Linked DNA regions of Homo sapiens: region 1 is linked to region 2. The links are contacts of gene promoters, found by promoter capture Hi-C in blood cells and fetal thymus (Javierre and others, 2016). All regions are on one chromosome and are shown on one strand. The core of a region is centred on a gene start or on the middle of the fragment in contact, and the rest is flanking DNA. Distances in the headings are between cores, read along the strand shown. Region 1 overlaps MCF2L2 (MCF.2 cell line derived transforming sequence-like 2). Region 2 holds the start of B3GNT5 (UDP-GlcNAc:betaGal beta-1,3-N-acetylglucosaminyltransferase 5).

The links. The method cuts DNA at HindIII sites, captures the fragments that hold promoters and counts their contacts. A CHiCAGO score of 5 or more calls a contact.
Region 1: a fragment that was not itself captured here is called in contact with the fragment with the promoter of B3GNT5 in region 2 in 3 of 17 cell types (M2 macrophages, M1 macrophages and monocytes); the score reaches 7.6 in M2 macrophages.

The regions. Positions count from the first base shown.
Region 1 is chr3:183,303,315-183,306,561 of GRCh38, reverse strand. The region is part of intron 10 of MCF2L2 (MCF.2 cell line derived transforming sequence-like 2); the gene reads left to right. Among named protein-coding and RNA genes, the nearest start is that of B3GNT5, 52 kb to the right of the region's middle. The HindIII fragment of the contact is 2,425 bases long and covers 292-2,716 here.
Region 2 is chr3:183,251,440-183,254,588 of GRCh38, reverse strand. B3GNT5 (UDP-GlcNAc:betaGal beta-1,3-N-acetylglucosaminyltransferase 5) reads right to left here and starts at 1,336. Exons shown (of 2, transcript NM_032047.5): 1 at 1,117-1,336. All of the region lies in intron 15 of MCF2L2 (MCF.2 cell line derived transforming sequence-like 2), which reads left to right. It overlaps LOC124906310 (a long non-coding RNA gene), which reads right to left. Exons shown (of 3, transcript XR_007096189.1): 3 at 2,034-2,054. The HindIII fragment of the contact is 12,746 bases long and covers 1-1,858 here.

The DNA of each region.
Region 1 (3,247 bases), core at 255-2,754, 52 kb before region 2:
ACTCGCTTTCTCGCCACTTTCTTCCCTAGTAGGCACTCTCATCTCTCATCTGTTATACCAGCAGAGTCCTCGGGGGGAAATAAACTTATTTCAATAAAGATTTCTGATTGCAACTTCTAAGCTGAAACTTGACGATCCAGCCTTCTGGAATTTTCAGCATCTGAAAGATCCCAGATGGGCTTGTGATCAGAAGATTTTAGCCATTTTTTCCCTCACTCTTTCTTTTTTACTTTGGAGATTTTGATGACTATTTATCCTGAGTGGGAGGTATATAAACTAAAAAAATAAGCTTCAATTTGGAGGTTTCACCATAAATTTCTTTGCAGGCACCAGGAGGATTTCATAGCACATGTGTAGAGGCCAGGTGGGCTGGAAGGTGACAAGAACACAGGCTTTGGAAGTCGGATAGGGATGGATTCAAATCTTGGCTCTAACAAGTACCAGCTGTATGACCCTAGTCACGTTTCGTAGCCTTTCTGAATATGGTCCCCCTCATCTGTAAAGCAGAGGTAATAATTCCTGCCTCACAGAGACCTTGTGAAGATTAAATGAGTTAGATGTGTGGTAGGGACTTCATGTGGTCAGCTTGCAATATGGTTGGTGGTCAGTAGTCAGTGGTCAGAAACTATTGTTGTCCTTTCAATTCTGTAATAGTGACCTTCCAGCCATGTGGTGGCTGAATCCGGGTTGCTCCTTAGTTGCCCTTTTTTTTGAGACGGAGTTTCACTCTTGCCGCCCAGGCTGGAGTGCAGTGGCACAATCTCAGCTCACTGCAACCTCCGCCTCCTGGGTTCAAGCGATTCTTCTGTCTCAGCCTCCCAAGTAGCTGGGACTACAGGTACCCTCCACCACACCCGGCTAATTTTTGTATTTTTAGTAGAGATGGGGTTTCACCATGTTGGTCAGGCTGGTCTCTAACTCCTGACCTTGTGATCCGCCGGCCTTGGCTTCCCAAAGTGCTGGGATTACAGGCGTGACCCACTGCGCCCGGCCTCCTCAGTTGCCTTTATGGGCGTTTCTCCCTAGACCCATTTGGACCTGTTACACACATCTTCCCTCTAACATCTCAAATGTCTTCTGGAAAATTCTGAAGGGTGAAATACTGTATGCTGAGGGAAGGGCAGGCTCTGATCACCACAGGGTGATTTGGAAGTATCCTGTGGTGAATTTCCCTGGACCCAGAAAATTCTGCCCTGTTCTTAATAAATTAGGCAGCTGGACTTAAAAAAAAAAAAAGTGTCAACAGAGACTTTCATGCCAAGTCTCATGTTTCTATATTTGACTAAAGTCAGACAAGTTCGAGCAACCAAATGAGGTCTCTAAGTTTAGGCAGAACAAGTGCAGCCATTTTTCTCTGTGTATGTTGGTCTGAGCCAGATCCTGGAGCAAGACTGCCTGGGTTTGAAGCCTGGCTCTTCTCTTTCCTACCTGGGTCACCTTGGGCCATTGTGCTCCACTTCCCTTTGGTAAAACAGTACCTGTATCAAAGGGTTTGTTGTGAAGAGTTAAGGAAATAAGCAAATGTAAAGCATTCAGAACAGTGCCTGGCATCTGTTAAGCTCTCAGTAGATGTTAGCTGTTGTTATTAACATTACAGAGGTAGAGGGATAAATTCTGGGCTATGGAACATGTGCTAGGTTCAGTCTGCGGTAGCTGAGCAGTGCTAGGAAAGGTCTGTCATTCATTCGACATCTATTCTGCAAATATTTATTCATCTCCTACCATGCCAGGTACTGTTTAAGTTCTGAGGACACAGCAGTGAACCAAAGAGTCAAAAATCACTGCCCAGACCAGGCGCGGTGGCTCACGCCTGTAATCCTAGCACTTTGGGAGGCCGAGGCGGGTGAATTGCCTGAGCTCAGGAGTTCGAGACCAGCCTGGGCAACATGGTGAAACCCCATCTCTGCTAAAAATTAAAAAAAAAAAAAATTAGCCAGGCATAGTGGTGGGCGCCTATAGTCCCAGCTACTCGGGAGGCTGAGGGAGGAGAATCGCTTGAACCCCGGAGGCAGAATTTTCAGTGAGCCTAGATCAAGCCACTGCACTCCAGCCTAGCTACAGAGCAAGATTCCATCTCAAAAAAAAAAAAAAAAAAAAAATCACTGCCCAGGGAATGAGTATTCCAGTCATCTTGTAGGGGTGGTAACCAGTGCACCTGGGCCTTTGCTGTTTAGAACAAGTGTTCTGGGTATTTTTGCCTCAGTCCTTTTAACTAGCCACTACTTGATTTGTGTCACTTGTTTCTATACCAGTACTCCTCTTTGTTTTGTGCAGCATTTATTTGTAAGTACCTAAGATGCAGCATGCACTGTTTTCAGTTGAATAAGAGCTGGTTCTGGACCATAGGTGTCTGTGGCATAGCGCAGGCAGCAGATAAGTGGTCACAACATAATGAAGCAGGTGCTCTGATCAAGAGAAGCACAGAGAAAGTTTTCTGGAGAAGGTGAAGTCTGAAATATGATTTAGATCGAGTTGGCCCCAGAGGAGTATGGGTGAGGGGGAGTAGGGAAGGATGGGCTTTCTAGGCAGACAGCAGGTGGAGAAGGGATGGAGGCCTGAAGCTGCCTGAATATTTGGGGAACAATAAGTGGATAATTAGTATGGTTGCAGCAGAGAATGGAGTTGAGGAAGTGGAAGAGGACTTGGTAAGTCAGGCACACCCAGGTATGAGCTAGATAATGAAATTCCCCGTGTGCATTGCTCAAGAGTTTAAGCTTGCTCCTGAAGACCCTGGGCGCCCAGGAAAGGGCTTGAAGCTTGGGAGTGATGTAGACACAATAAGATATGTTGGAATTGCTCCTTTGTCAGCAGTCTGGAGCATGATTTGAAGGAGAGCCTGAAGAAAAGCAGGGAGACCAGTTGTCCCCATGAGAAGCCATGAGGCCTGAGCAGACAGTGACAAGGAGGTGGCAGAGATGGGGTCAGAATTTGAAAGGCATTAAGAAGGCGACGGTCCCTGCGGGGCTTCGTGAATGACTGGGAGGGTAAGAGGAAAGGGGTTTGGAAATTGTTGAAACCATAAACCAGTGCAAGTTAAGAGAGGGGCAAGATGTACGCACCTGGAGTTACCGTGACTCCTTGTGTTACTGTAAACAGCTAAAGCAGTGCAGTGATGCACTGGATGCTTAGTGTGGCTGGCAAGGGGGCTCATGGGCTCTCTGCTCCTGGAGACCTTTTGGAATGTGGCAGTCATCTGTGCTGATTGCTTCACAGAGTTCCAGCCAAGCAGGTCACCGCATCATGTAGC
Region 2 (3,149 bases), core at 87-2,586:
CGAGGAGCCGGAGCTCCTCAGGGACGGGGACCCGCAGGCCCCGGGAAGCCGCCCCAACCGGAGCTGCCCGGCCCCCGAGCCTACCTGCCGCACCTGGGCGGCGGCCCGGCCTGGGTCCCAGCCGCTGGCCACCCGCGCGGGCAGGCCGGAGGGAACAAAGGCGTTCCGGGGAGGGGACGAGCCTCCTTCTCCGCCGCGCTTTCAGAGGGCGGGCTGCCGGGGCCCGCGGTGGGAGAGGCCTCCCCGGCTTCCCGACTTCCCGGCGCTGGGCCGTGCGCGGTCCGGGCCAGGGCGGCGGGCCCCGATCCGGTGTCCACGCCAGCCACGCGCCCCCGGCCCAAGCGCGCGTTCCCACCTGAAGTCCTGGCGCCACCCGCCGGGCGAGGGCCGGCGTGCCCTCACCTCCTCGCCACTCTTCTCCTCCAGAGACCTCGCTCGGCCCGGAGTGGGCAGACTCGGAGCCTCCCGCGCCGGAGACCGCGAGCCGCTCGGCCGAGGAGGCGCGGCGGGGCGGGGGCGGGGCGGAGGGGCCGGCCCGCAGCCCCCAATGCCGGGAGCCCGCGCTGGAGACCCAGGGAGCCCAGCTCGGGGCCGCGGCACGGAGAACGAACCATCCGTGGCCTGGAGACGTATCCCGCCGAGCGGCCAGAACTTTCCCCATTTAGCGATCCGGAAAGGAAGCCAACACTCCCACCCAGAGAGGCCTCGGCCGCGGAAAGATGCGGCCGCGGCACAGCCGTGTTTTCACCACGTAACTGACCACAGACTAACTCCGCGCGGAACCACCGGCCCAGGGCGCTCCGCCAAGAGGCGGACTGTGCTGGCCTCGCGGGCCCTACGCCCAGGGAACGCCGCGGTTCCTCCCACACGGGACACCGGTTCCGCAGCGCCGCGGATTAGGATGGTCTTTTACTTTCCGAGCGGGAGCTCTAACGCAGGCTCAGGCGGGTCTTGTTAAAAGGTTTCTGGTCACACCACTTATGCGTGGAGCTCTGGGGGCCTCAGTAACAAAGTAAGGAAACTTACAGCAAACTAGGGCTGCACTGCCGCTGTCCGTTTCTAAAATACGAGAAGAGGGGGAAACCCCGCCCCAGGCCAGCTTCCCAGTGACTTTACCTCCAAGTCCAGCTTCATTTCAAGGGCAGTTTAGAGCGAAACTCACGAAGTTCAAGCCCAGCTCTTTAAATGTCCAAATCGGAGGTCGGCTTTCCTTCCCGCATCGGAGCTAAAGTCGCTGGTCTCAAGAACAAAACTTGCGGGCTTTAAATCTTGGGCGAGGACTGGACGGGCAGCGCTGGACTGGGCTCGCTTCCCCGGCGGGATGCGGGCTGTATGCGGGCGGGATGGGGGCGGGCCCGGGCGGGGGCGCGAGGCTCCCAGCCGCGCGCCCCGCACTCTCGGCGTCACGGCCCGAGCCCGGCCCCGCCCGCCAGCCGCCACCCTCCCGGCGCGTAGGTGAAGGTGATGGGCCCCGCCCCAGTTTGTTCTTGTCTGTAGATGAGAATTCCAGGAAGTGTTTCCCTGCCGCTCGTCAGTTAATTGCGATCACTTACTCAAATGGCCAACTGGAAGCCAGAGTGCACATGAATGTCCTCTTTGAGCTATTTTCCTCCTTTAGAATACTTCATGCAGGTAACCAGACAATATCGAGAGATGCGGACTTCTACTCAACGAGAGAGATTATAAATGAATCCTGGATGCGCTTGATTTCTTGTTTCCCGCATGTTGTTAGACCTCTCCCTAAAGCCACAAAACATTTAACGGAGATAATATTTTGAGCGATTCTGTTATTGTACATATTTCAGAACATGACAGAAAAGCAAAAGATTAACCCAAATACTTTAGTAAAATAAAAGCTTTGAGTTTGTCGTAAAAGGAACAAGACAGGTAATGAGTTAAATGTATGATTGTCGAATCAGGGTTTAAAACAGTGGGGCCAGCAGACACGGTGGCTCACACCTGTAATCCCATCACTTTGGGAGGCTGAGCCGCAGGAGGATTGCTTGATCCCAGGAGTTAGAGACCAGCGTGGCCAACATAGCAAGACCCCATCTCTAAAAGAAAAAACACACACACAAAATGAAAACTGTTGTTCATTCAAACTAGATTTTTAGGAAGTTTTTAAATTGCTTTCCTTAAGCTGGTCAGCATCTTTTAAATCATGCAGTTCTTTTCATATGCTGCCTACACAGGGCATGGCTCAGCATCTCCCAGACTGTGGCACTGCATGTTCATCAGACCACAGACAGAAATATTTACATGTGTGATTTGCAAAGGAGTCATTGACAGTGACCCACAAATAAGCTGATTCATTGTTAATACAGCACTAATGACATACCTTCTCTAATAAAATGCTGACTGAAATCCCACATGCATTTCCCCCAGCCATCACATGTGTATGTTGTATATCTGTGCAAATATTCAATTACAATTATATTCCTTTCAGATCATTTGGAGCTAGGTCCATGTGTCAGTATACATATGTTCCACATACATGAGCACATAGAACTGTACCCACGAGAAATACAAACTGACCAAAACAGTGGTAGACACACATACAAATCACATATTCACATCATACTAGATACAGATAAACACACCAGATAGATAAATGGTTTCAAAAGTATGTCTGGAGATTGGAAATACGATGCAAGTTTTTTGGTGGTAGGAGGGAGAGATGAGAGGGTGTGAAGGAGAGATAGGCAAGGTCAAGTAGTCCAGAATGCCCACTCTGGGATCCACACAAGCTCAGATCACACATGCGAGAGGACAGGCAAGTCCCCTTTGCTTGTTAGGGAAGATTTCCTAGAGCAGCCTGGCTTCCTGTCCCACCCAGAGAGAGGGGAAGAGAATGACAGATTTGATGGTATTGATGGTGCTATGCTCAGTTACTTTTATCAAGAGGGAGTGCATGAAGATATTGAGATGTGTTAGAAATAAACTTAGGTAATAATAATGATGCTGACTTGGCCAGCATGAAGAAGGAGGACCGTGTTGGCATGCTTTCCTTATCCAAGTAGCAGCTGGTAAGCAGAGAGCCCTGTGATTAGATCTATACATGACTTTGGAATGACCAAAATCTGCATGTTAGACTCGGCAGGGATAGATAAGGCACAGAAAGAGCAGAGGAGTAGCAGATTTAGGAGAGA